Regions from separate parts of the Homo sapiens genome. Here region 2 is linked to region 1. The links are contacts of gene promoters, found by promoter capture Hi-C in blood cells and fetal thymus (Javierre and others, 2016). All regions are on one chromosome and are shown on one strand. The core of a region is centred on a gene start or on the middle of the fragment in contact, and the rest is flanking DNA. Distances in the headings are between cores, read along the strand shown. Region 1 holds the start of FLJ46875 (a long non-coding RNA gene). Region 2 overlaps PKP4 (plakophilin 4).

What was found. The method cuts DNA at HindIII sites, captures the fragments that hold promoters and counts their contacts. A CHiCAGO score of 5 or more calls a contact.
Region 2: a fragment that was not itself captured here is called in contact with the fragment with the promoter of FLJ46875 in region 1 in 1 of 17 cell types (activated CD4 T cells); the score reaches 5.5 in activated CD4 T cells.

Annotation. Positions count from the first base shown.
Region 1 is chr2:156,338,617-156,344,223 of GRCh38, reverse strand. It overlaps FLJ46875 (a long non-coding RNA gene), which reads left to right and starts at 2,104. Exons shown (of 1, transcript NR_147695.1): 1 at 2,104-5,607. RefSeq lists enhancers at 823-882, 2,090-2,643, 2,644-3,199 and silencers at 1,293-1,902, 2,443-2,542. The HindIII fragment of the contact is 3,407 bases long and covers 1-2,799 here.
Region 2 is chr2:158,461,425-158,467,031 of GRCh38, reverse strand. The region is part of intron 1 of PKP4 (plakophilin 4); the gene reads right to left. Among named protein-coding and RNA genes, the nearest start is that of PKP4, 7.3 kb to the right of the region's middle. The HindIII fragment of the contact is 4,448 bases long and covers 179-4,626 here.

The DNA of each region.
Region 1 (5,607 bases), core at 855-3,354:
TCCCTTGTCTCAATAACACCACTTAGTGATAAACAATTCAGTGTCTTTCAACGGAAACATTCCTTTTAAAAACCACACAAACCAGAAATGGGAGCAAAATTGGAGAAAGTGATCTCATTGCATTTTGCTACCCATAATCCATTTGCTCACATGAGAAAACGTGGTGTTGGAAAGGGCCTGTGACATCATTAGACTGTAAATATGTCTGCTGTCCTGTAAATGAGGCAGACTGTGACTAGTTTTTCCTCTTAAAATAGTTTTAATGGTATATTTTAATTCATTATTTTCCTGAAGTGGCCCTAATATATTTTAAGATGTACAAAATTTTAAAATGTCAGAACACCAAATTAATCTACATTTGTTACCTGTCTCCCATGAGACACTGGGTGCTTATGTTTATTTGATAAAACTTTATCCCTGGACACAATATCCTTTAACATCCTAGAATGTAAGGGTAGAAAAGGAACTATCAGTCCTTAATGTTAATGAAGAAAGTGCGGCAGAGAAAGGCCGTGGTTTCTGCAAGGTGGCACAGAAAAGTACAGTGAAGACATAATTAAAACTCAAATTTCTTTATCTTCTAAACCCCAGCTCAGAGAACCTTCTACTATACCACTTTGCCTCACTAGTGAACTAAGAACCATTTCCCCCAACACTAGTAACTCACTCTAACCATGCCAAGTCACTGCAACACCTTGCTTGCATCTGCAAATTTTTATCTATGTCTATATCAGAACCTCAGAAAACATGTTCATAGCTGAGACATTTTGCTCAAGACGAAATACAGTTTTATAGTCTATTAATTGTTGGTCCAAGAAAACAGATTACCTCCAGTTGTATGTGGGTACCTTAATGAGTAGGACAAGTGTCAGGGTGTGTGACAGAATTGCCTGAGTATGGAAGGTAGCAGTGAGAGTCTCCACAAAAATATTAATACTTTCCTATAGAGAAAGCCCCTTTTAAAGTGGGAGCCTTTATTAAAGTCCAGAGTTAAAAAGTAAGCTCTTTAACGTTGAGATTATAGACTTTTAGAAAGTTCATTTATGCCATGTTTCAGGCCTATGCTAAATTCTACGGCAAAAAGACCTGTAAATGCACCGGAGCTGACAGCCTGGGTCCTGGAACCCTTCCTCACGCTGCTACTACGGGGCACCCTTTCTATAATACAACCCCCCGAATGAAAACACTAATGCAAGCCTGGCCCCACAAAAACCTAGATAATGCTTACGTTGAAGACGACAGGTTTTTCGCTTTTGTTTTCGGTTGAGGACTTACTACCCCAAAAACACATCCGACCTGTACTAGAATAGGTGTGTGAGGGAGCGGGAAAAGCTCGGGTCATTTTAACTGGACTAGAAAGGAACACAGCGATCCCCTCACTAAACTTGTCGCCAAGTTCCCTCCTCGCCATCCCAGGGTGCGGGAAAAACCCCCTCCCGCCCCGGGGCCCCGGCAGCACTCGGGGACGCCAGCACGCCGGGCTCCTTCCCACCCGCGAACCGCGCTCCCCGCAGGGCGGGCCGGGGCGGGGAAAAAGGAGCTCGACGCGAAGGGCCGCGGGCGGCCTGGGAAGGGAGGAGGGAGACTTGGGAGGCTGCCGGGCGGTTTTATTGTTTCCTTTCGCCCTCCTCCTACCGCGCCTCCGCCCCAGCGTCACTGGAAAGCCGCCCGAGCCGCCCGGCGGCAGGTTATTTATAGCGCGGGCTGCGCGCGCGTCACGGAGCCCGGCCCGGCTGACGGGGCCGCTGACGCGCTTGGCCGCGGGGCCGAGTCCGCGGGGCTGCGCGCCGGACGCCGGCGACAATGGGCTTCTGTGTGCAGCTGCCGCAGCCGCCGGGGGCCGGGGGCCGGGGGCCGGGGGAGGGGGGCGGGCGACTCCCCGGCTCCCTTCTTGGTCGGCCGCGACCCCCCGAAAGGTAACAGGCCTCTTTCGCCCCCGGCCAGGACCTGGGCCCTGTGGGCTTTTTTTTTTTCCATTTTATCAGTAAGTTCCCCTTGTCCCAGCCTCCGCTTTCACTTCCCGCGTTCCCTCCACCCCAAAAACCGCCCCAACATGTCCAGAGAGGGGCATCTACCCAGCCGCCCAGCCAGGGGCGACCACTTTGTGAGCCCCGGGGAGCGGGACCCGTACCAGGCGCGCCCAGCGGGGGATGCGGTGACCGAGGGGCCGGGAGCGCCGGGCAGGTAACGTATCCTGGACCTAGAGTCGGGGGACTTTGTTTGGGGCGGGAGGAGCGGAACAGGGGTGGGTGTGAACGCCGGACGGCCCTTCCGGGACTCCTGTCCCCCCTCCTTCGCCCCACTCGCCTGCGCGCTGGAAGCCAATCTGGGTGTGTAGCGCGAAGAGCGAAAGAGAAACTTCTGCGTGACTGACTAGATGAGGCTCCTCCCGAGAAGCCGAGATAATAGAGGCCCCCTCTCCCGCCGCCCGCCTTTTTCTCCTCCCCCGGCCGCTCGCTCCTGTCGCCCCACCCCTCGAAGGCTGCGGACCAGCCCCCCACACTTCCCCCTACACCTCTGGCGGGTTCGCGCCGTGGACGCCCCCGCCCTGCGGGAGGAGGGGCTGGCGCGGATTTTAGGGACTTCCTGGGATGCGGAGATCGGCTCTGAACCATCCCCTTTCTGCTGCCCGGAGCTGGGGAAGCTCGCTGTGGAGCGTCTCGCACGTGGCAGGCAGGCAGAGAACTTGCTGCACCTTCTAGGAAATTGCAATCGATTTGTAATGCACTTTCGCTAATTGGGAGTTCAAAATTAAACTTTAATAAAGCATTCGTGTCGTCTCGTCTAATTGTGAAAGCTTCCATCCGTCCTGGTAGATAGACTCTAAGTCTCAAGTTAATGGCGCTAAGCTAGATTTTCCCCCCAAGTACAATTCCGTCAGCCGTCGTCGGCGCAGCTGGATTTCCGTAAGGTACAGATGTTGCTAATGACAGCTTAAGCACGGATGGGCAGATAGCATACGGAATGCAACATGTTGCCATATGGTTCCTTTAGCCTTTCACCTCCAGGGATATCAATCACATATATTCTGGGAGGAACTTAATGACTCTCTGAACAGCAAAATGAATTACCTGGTACAATTTATATCCCTTGACCTGATACGTTATAACAACAGGAAGATAGCATCTCGCAATTTCTGTGGTATAAATTGAACTACAGAGCTACATTTAAAATTCTACATCTATTTGTAGTTTAAGGGGCCCTGTCATATTCTGGCTGTAAAATCTGTTTCTGTATTGCCCATCTCCTTCCCCCTCCTACCTCTGGAGGAAGCAAAATTTATAAAGTTTAGCAAAACTGGTGTCGGAAATTGCCAGTCAACTGATTAATAGATGAAGTATGGAGAAATGGAAAATATGACTTCCAGAGCTACTTACTTCAACAAGAATTAGCCATCTTTAGGAACACCATACTTTTAAGCGTACAAAATTAAAGAACTCCAGAAAATGTATTTTCTGCTAGTTGTTTCAGTATAGCTCCTAAATCTATTCATTAACTATTTGAAATTCTCCATTTATTTTCAAACTTCAACCATTCCTACACTTTGGAAATTACAGAAGACAGTTCTCAGAAATATGAAATACAGGAAATGTAAGTAGCACCTCCTCAGCGAACCAGTTTCTGTACCCACAACCCCATGCACTCACTATTTATGTAGCTTAATTTGAATCATGTACATGGTGGTACTGGTAGTTTGCTTTTTCCTCCCAACATGTCAGTGACAGCATACTTAAGTTGCTGCTTCTCTCCTAGTGGAGTGATTCTGCAATATTTCACAGGTCTCATTTTTAAATATCCTGGTGACTAATAAAATGTTTTAATTGATTGCCTTTAATTTCAGATTATAAACGTGGTTGTCTTACTGTATCCTTTATTTTCTATTCACTAATACAGATAGATCACACGGGAAGACAATACTTTAAGGGCAAAAAGTAAAATAACTTACTAGAATTTCTAAACTTTATGTTTACTTTTACCTACTAAGGGATATCTGAAAGGTAGAGACATACTTTTAAAACTTTTTGCTTCTGGCACTATGTAAACATTAATTCATGTAAACTAATGACTAGCAGAATGCCTAAGATAGACATGAACAGTCTGAAAAAGTATTTACTTTCAGTCATGTCAAGTTTCGGAAAGTGTTAACATTTTGAAAGTTTGTCTATATATCATGTCCTTTCATAATTATTGTGAAATTATAAGACGATGCTTCTCCTTTTTTTTTTCCTTTGTAGTGGCTGATTTGTTACCTAGTGCTTTAGTTCGATAATTTTGATAATTATTATCAAATAAGATCCTTTGTGTGTGTATATAGGAGAAAATCTTATACAGAACACATTAAGATATACATAAGTTATGGCAATCTTGTCTTCTGGGGCTGTTTTTTAAATCTTTTAATGGCTGAGGTTTTATTTCTCTTTGTAGCACCAGCACTCGATGTGTCTTAAATGTGATCAGTAGTGATGGTGAGCTTGTCAATAATGACTCCATCTCCATGACTTGTGAATAGGCGGTGAGTGTGTCCTTTAATCAGTCACACAGAACTTGCTTTATAAAGCTGTTATTGTCATGAACAGATATTGCAGTCTTGTCAGGCCCAGTGATTATTAAAGTGTTCCTTCTTCAAAAGCCAGGCCGAAAGTCCTGCTGTGCTTCATTTCACAATTGAAGTCCATTAGTAAATAAAATCCCAAGCCGCACGATTTGCTGTTCCTCAAGTTATAGGCTTACATATATTTCATTAATAATCTTGGGCCCTTTTGTAGACATAAGTAGGTATATTTTTGGTATATATATATGGCAACAAAAATAAAATATGTATCTTGCAGCATGACTTTTATTTTAAATGAAGATTTGATGGATGTCCATTGTTACTCTAAATGAGGTGGCTGGCTGCCAAGGGAAACCCTACAGTCAGAAAGTACTAGAATTGTTACTATCTACAGGGAATCACTTTCTATTTTTTGAGTTCTCAACTTCACCTCCTCCTTTCAATAGTGCCCCTCCATATTGCTAATCTGAGAATTAGTCTGAATATGAAAACTTTTGAAAATATGTTTGTGTTGTCCAAGAAAAATTTCACCAGTGTTTCTGGTTGCCTGCTGGTTTTCAGCCTTTATCTTGAGTGGGCATGTTTATTCTAACTGAATGAAGAATGACTATTGAATTAGGTATATTCCCCATGCCAAATAATTTTAACTGTGATGTAATCCTAGCCGCTTTCTTATTTTTACTCCCGAATAAATTTAAAATATTTAAGATTGGCCAGGTGTCTGTTTTTCTCAGGGTAACATGGGACAGCTATGGATAGGCATTAGGCCTCTCATAGAACTCTTCATTCAAGTGAGTGTGGCTGAGAGGAACAACCAGGAAAGAGTATAGTGCCCCATTGCACTTGCCCTGTTGGCTTTTCAAATGCAAAATCCACGTTGTTGCATTTGGAAACTTGTTTCTCTGTTTTATGGTATTTCATTTAAGAATTTTTTTTAACTGCCAGTCTGTAAATATTTAACCAGCCAAGCAGGAAACAGCCTTTTATTCTCGACTGTATACAGCTTTTGTTTTTATCTGGGTTAGCATGGGTGCCATGTAAATACCATATAAAAT
Region 2 (5,607 bases), core at 1,153-3,652, 2.1 Mb before region 1:
TAATTTTATAGTACCAATAACCCTTAGCATTTTTGTAACATTTCCCCTTTGAAAAACTTCATGTGCTTTAAATTATATCTACTTCTGTCTTAACTCTTCAACTGAGTATACAAAGATATTACTGATTCACAAAAGGTACAGATACAGAAAGTTTGCTCAATATCACACTTTCAAAGCTTAGCTTAGTCTTGGTGCTTGATTGGTGCCTATTAGTAGTATGATAAAGAGCATTATGAAAACTCATCTCACTATGGTTATAATCCAGGCAATTAAGTTTAAAATGAATATGAACCAATCTGTTTAAAATCTTCTAATTAATTTCTTTTTGAAATGGAGTTTCGCTCTGTCACCCAGGCTGGAGTGCAGTGGTGCAATCTCTGCCCACTGCAACCTCTGCCTCACGGGTTCACGTGATTCTCTCACCTCAGCCTCCCAAGTAGCTGGGACTACAGGCGCCCGCCACCACGCCTGGCTAATTTTTTTTTTTTTGTATTTTTAGTAGAGATGGGGTTTCACCATGTTGTCCAGGCTGGTCTTGAACTCCTAATCTCAAGTGATCCACCTGCCTCAGCCTCCCAAAGTGCTGGGATTACAGGTGTGAGCCACTGCACCCAGCCGTTAATTTCTTTACTAAGGAATTTGGTATAATGAATTATTTATCTAGCAAGTTGTATTAGAAAAGCATTTTTTTAAAGTCTAAATAGTTTTTTCCTTTGAAACATGCAGGATAAATGGTATCAGGGTCTCAGACCAGTTTACAAAAGGACAGAGGATAGGTACTAGGCACAAACAGACACGATTATCCAAGAGTAGCAGGTGAAGGTGTTCAAAACTAGAATTCAAACTCATTCATTCACTTAAGGTATGTAGAACCACTGGAGGTCAAGATTTAAGTCCTGTAGAAAGATAAAGTCCCTGCTGTTGAGTAGCTTAGAGCAGGACTATTTTCCCATGGAACTGATATACTATAGTTACACTACAGGACGGGAGATTTATGGATTAATGTTGCTTCTGTGAAAAATTATATTCACAGTTCTAAATAATATTTTGGAAGACTGACACTTGCCGATATACTATCCGAAGATTTCAGACTGACACTTATTTTTCATCTGTTGACAGTCTGAATTAGACCTTTAACATCTGAGTTGTTTATCACAGGTCTCAGACTAATAGTATTAATAGTTCTTGTGAAGTCCAGTTGGATTTTGTGATTCCTTAGTCAGTGCCTTTTTTAAACAGACTTACTGCTTATGTAGTTGTCGACAAAATGACAGTAAGTGAAAAATTCCCATCAGTGCATCATTCTGAGATTCAAAGTAAGATTCAATGAGACCATTTATTCTAGCATACATCACGAGAGATTTTGAAACATTCTGTTTATTCATAACAATGGGAGGGAATATTTTCAACAGCAAGTTTGGGCTTATAAAGGCACACAAATTACATAGAGAATAAAAGAAAAGCACAAAACACAATAAACGAAAATACTGCTGCATGAAAAATAAAAATAAGAATGTAATAAAATGGCAGGTCTTACAGCATAAATTATGGTTTCTCATAAATCATGTATTGTCATTATGATTAATTATTTCACATAGGCTATATGGTAAAGTGTTTCAAGAGATACAGCCAAAATAATCAAGTTCATGATTAAAACTTATTTTGAAATCACTATTTATCTTTGGTGCAGACTTTTCCCAAAGAAAGCTAATGAGAGTGGTTAGTGCATATCTCTAGAATCGGGTAATTTATCATGTAATACACAATTAAGCAAGTAGAAGTATGAGCTACAACCTAGTTATTTTATAGCTCATCCTTAATACTTATGAAACAATGTTACATGCTTATTTATATACCAACATTTCTAGGACAATCTTCTCTACCTCATGTGTCTTATCTTTCCCAACCAGACTGAAAAATGTATCATGGATTCCTTAAAGACCGAGACTCCCATTACTGAATCTAACACAGACAGTAAGTATCCCTGGAGGAAGTCATCTTTTTGGCCATAAGGCCTATCAGTCTGATATGGAGTAGGGGACTAAAAAATGTTGGTTAAAATGAACTAAAATGAATCATTTCAAATAAGTAGTATCGTTTTAAATAAGTATGCAAAATGAAACACAATACTGCACACACAGCAGGACTCCAACAAATATCTAAAGTACTAATTGTCTACAGTCCCCTCACTTGCACCCCTAGTGGTATACAGGAATAAAGTTACCTTTAATTCATCAAACAGTCCCTGTTTCCCACTCAACTCAGGGTACAGGTGTCAGAACACATGATCCATTTCACTGCAAAGTGGTAAATAATGGTTTCTATTTTACATGAGTGTTTACAATTCTCATGAAGGTATGGGAACAACAGCCAGTTCTTCAAGGGTTTATTTTGATCGTGACATTGACAATTCATTTAATACTGCATACAATAGTAGTATAATTAATGCTTCCCTTTGCAAATAATGTGCTTATTGCATTAGCAAAGGGGAAGAGCTAACCTCAATATTTTTAAACAATTGTTTTATAGATAAATACATACTAGAGTTCTATACGGATTTTTTTTCTCCACAAAGGAAGAGAACAGGGTCTAGGAGAAACTTTCATCACTGAATTTTTAAATTACTTTTTATAGAAGAGCACAAATCCAAGTAAAAAATTCTCCTCATGAAATCTGCCACAATTTCTGAACACTGGTAGATTGTCTATATGTAAAAATTAGACTTGAATGAAAAGTCCCTCTATTCTATGAGATATGGATTGACGAGTTCCCTATGAACCTAAAGTATTCATACAAAATGTTTTCAGAGGAGCAACTCTGTCAGTTGTTTAACTTCTCTGAGGACAAATCAAACCATCTGAGCAAGTAAGAAGTGGATCTTTCTCACTGTAACAAGACTAGTCCCTTCTAACCACCATGCTAAATCCCCTTTCTTGTTTCTATCCAACTTCTGAAAAATGTAGTCTCAATCAGAGGTGAAGCCTCCAATGTGCACAGGGGACTGGTTGTAGACAAGTAAGTCCCAGAAGTCAGGGCTGTGACAAACTGCAGATGTGCAGCTCCATAAAGGCTCACTGCTCAGCTCCTGCCCCGAGGGGCCCCAGGGATCCTCACTCCTGGAGCACTTCACCACTACCGCACAAGACACGGAGCCACTGACTCAGCCACAGAGGGGTCACAGGTTTGTCTGGCTGCGACACATATTTTCAGGAGCTGAGAATTTCAAGTATACAACTTCAATTTTCCCTCCTTATCCCAGAGGGTAAATTGTCATAAATCCTTGGGAAGACAGCATATTCTTGCTGAGGAAAAAATGTAATGGCTTGATGTTCTAAGAGTTGCGAAATGTAAGTACTAGAGGGACTCTAGAGAGCATCTAGACCAACTCCCTCATTTTATAGACAAGAAAACTAAAGCCCACGAGAGTTACATGATGTGCTCATGGGACACACACCTGCATAGTGGCAAAGCCAGGACTAGAACTAGAGCCTCTTGATATCTATTTAACCACTGTCTGTTGATTTATATCATGTATATTCCAAACCCCCTTCCTCTTTTCTAGCCTTTCTTGATTTGGGAGTCTCCTGCTGATTTCAAATATCCTTTTTTTTTTTTTTTTCAACTGTGATCACTTTCAGACAGAAAAGCCAGCTTAAAGAGTTAATTTACAAGCTGCATTTGGGCAAATGGTGTTAAATGATGAACACTTTCTAACGCTTTATTCATGTACTGACTAGCAAAGACATTTTATAAAATGACTACTACCTGGGATTACAAACGCAATAATTGTATACATTCTCCTATACTTGTTGGCTAGCGGTGGTTAATGCCTCTCTAAGTATTGCCTACCGCAAGAAGCTACAACTTCCCTACTTAAAAAGGCCCTTAATTACTGTGCTGGATTCTCTTTTCTACAATGTCCTGCAAACTATCAAGCTCACAATGGTTTCTGTTCAGCAGTTTATTTCTTCTCTGAAATATCCTGTTGAAATCCATAATCATTTTGACAAAACCCACACAGAAAGCAAGCCAATAATTTCCCTGGCATTTGGTAAATGCTGCAGAAACCATCATAAAAGCACCACAATGTAAAAATAATTATTTCAATGTATTAAGCGCTGGCTCTGAACCAGCTCCTGTTGTAAGCACTTTACATGTATTAATTCATTTAATCTCCCCAACAACCATATGAAGTGGGTACTTTTATCACTCCATCCTACAGATGAGCAAAACGAGGACCACAGAGATTATACAATCTGCCAGGTTACACAGCCAGCAAGTTGCAGTGCCAGAATTGGACCCTGACAGTAAGGCTGCTAATCATGACACCTCACTACCTTAATGACACTTCATGAGCCTCACTGAGTATGAAGGTGAAATCCCAAGCACTTTCCCTGGCCAAAACTACCATATGTAATCTCAGACTAGGGTAGAGGCAGACAGCAAGACTTTGAAAACATGTGCTTCATCCCTTCCCCTCACTTCCCAAAATGATATTGTTTTAAAACAAAACAATTAAAAATGAATGTGAAGAAGGTTCAAAAGTCTCAAAAGAGAAATTCAACTTCCTTGTTGCCATGATTTGAGGTACAAGGGGAAACAGGGCTGATTATGTATATTCAAGCTTGGAAAAGTTTTTTGTTCTTTTTTTTTTCTTAAGAAAAATTTTTAAAAACCACTGTGAACTTCAGGAATCTTGAGCTAAAATATAACTTAGATCAATATAATCCAAATTGTATTTTTAAAAGGAGGAAGCTATCATCCAAACATTAAATGGTTTGTCAAGGTAATAAGGTTTAATGGCAGATCTCCTAATTTCTGATTTGGGATGCTTTTTACTTCCCTCATGCTTGCAATTCAGACACAGCTTGCAATGGGCCAAAACTTCAGATACCACCTAGCCAGTGTTTCAAAAGTCTATTTGTAAACTGATTGTGGGTTTCTATGAAAAACTGCATTCCAAGTTTCGGGCCAGGCCCCAAAAGCCTGCATAGTACCCTGATAGCCTCACTTCAAATACATATTTTACCTAACCTTCATATACAGTATCATTTTTGTGTCAAACCCCATACCTGTTTTAAATTCAACCTGGAATACAGGACACCAATGTCTACATTTTATGTACATGGTCTCAGGCCATAAGGAGCTTCCTCTGCCTTGCCAAGCTCACAGATGTGGTGATGGCATAGTGTGTGTGTGTTGTGGCAGGGTGGTGGGGGCAGTGTAGGGGCACAGATGAAGGAAGAGCAGTACTAACACCATTAAATATTTGCAACTCACCCAATTTATATTTAGTGGAGAGGAAACTATAGAAGTCAAACATGCCTCAGATGTCAAAGAAAGGTGCTTCCCCTGGCCCCCTCCCTCCCTACCCTATATTGTGAGTTCTGGATTTTGTGAAGACTGTATTATTCTATATCTAGCTACCTGGATTGGCACCCACCCAGTCACCAGGCATTATTCCATTCAGGAAAAATGCTTTGCAATCACATGACTTACAATAACTCAGACACTTCCACATTTTAATTTATATATTTGGTAGTAATAAAATCTCACAATACAATCCCTAACAACATTTTATCAGCTGCAATGAATCATTATATATGA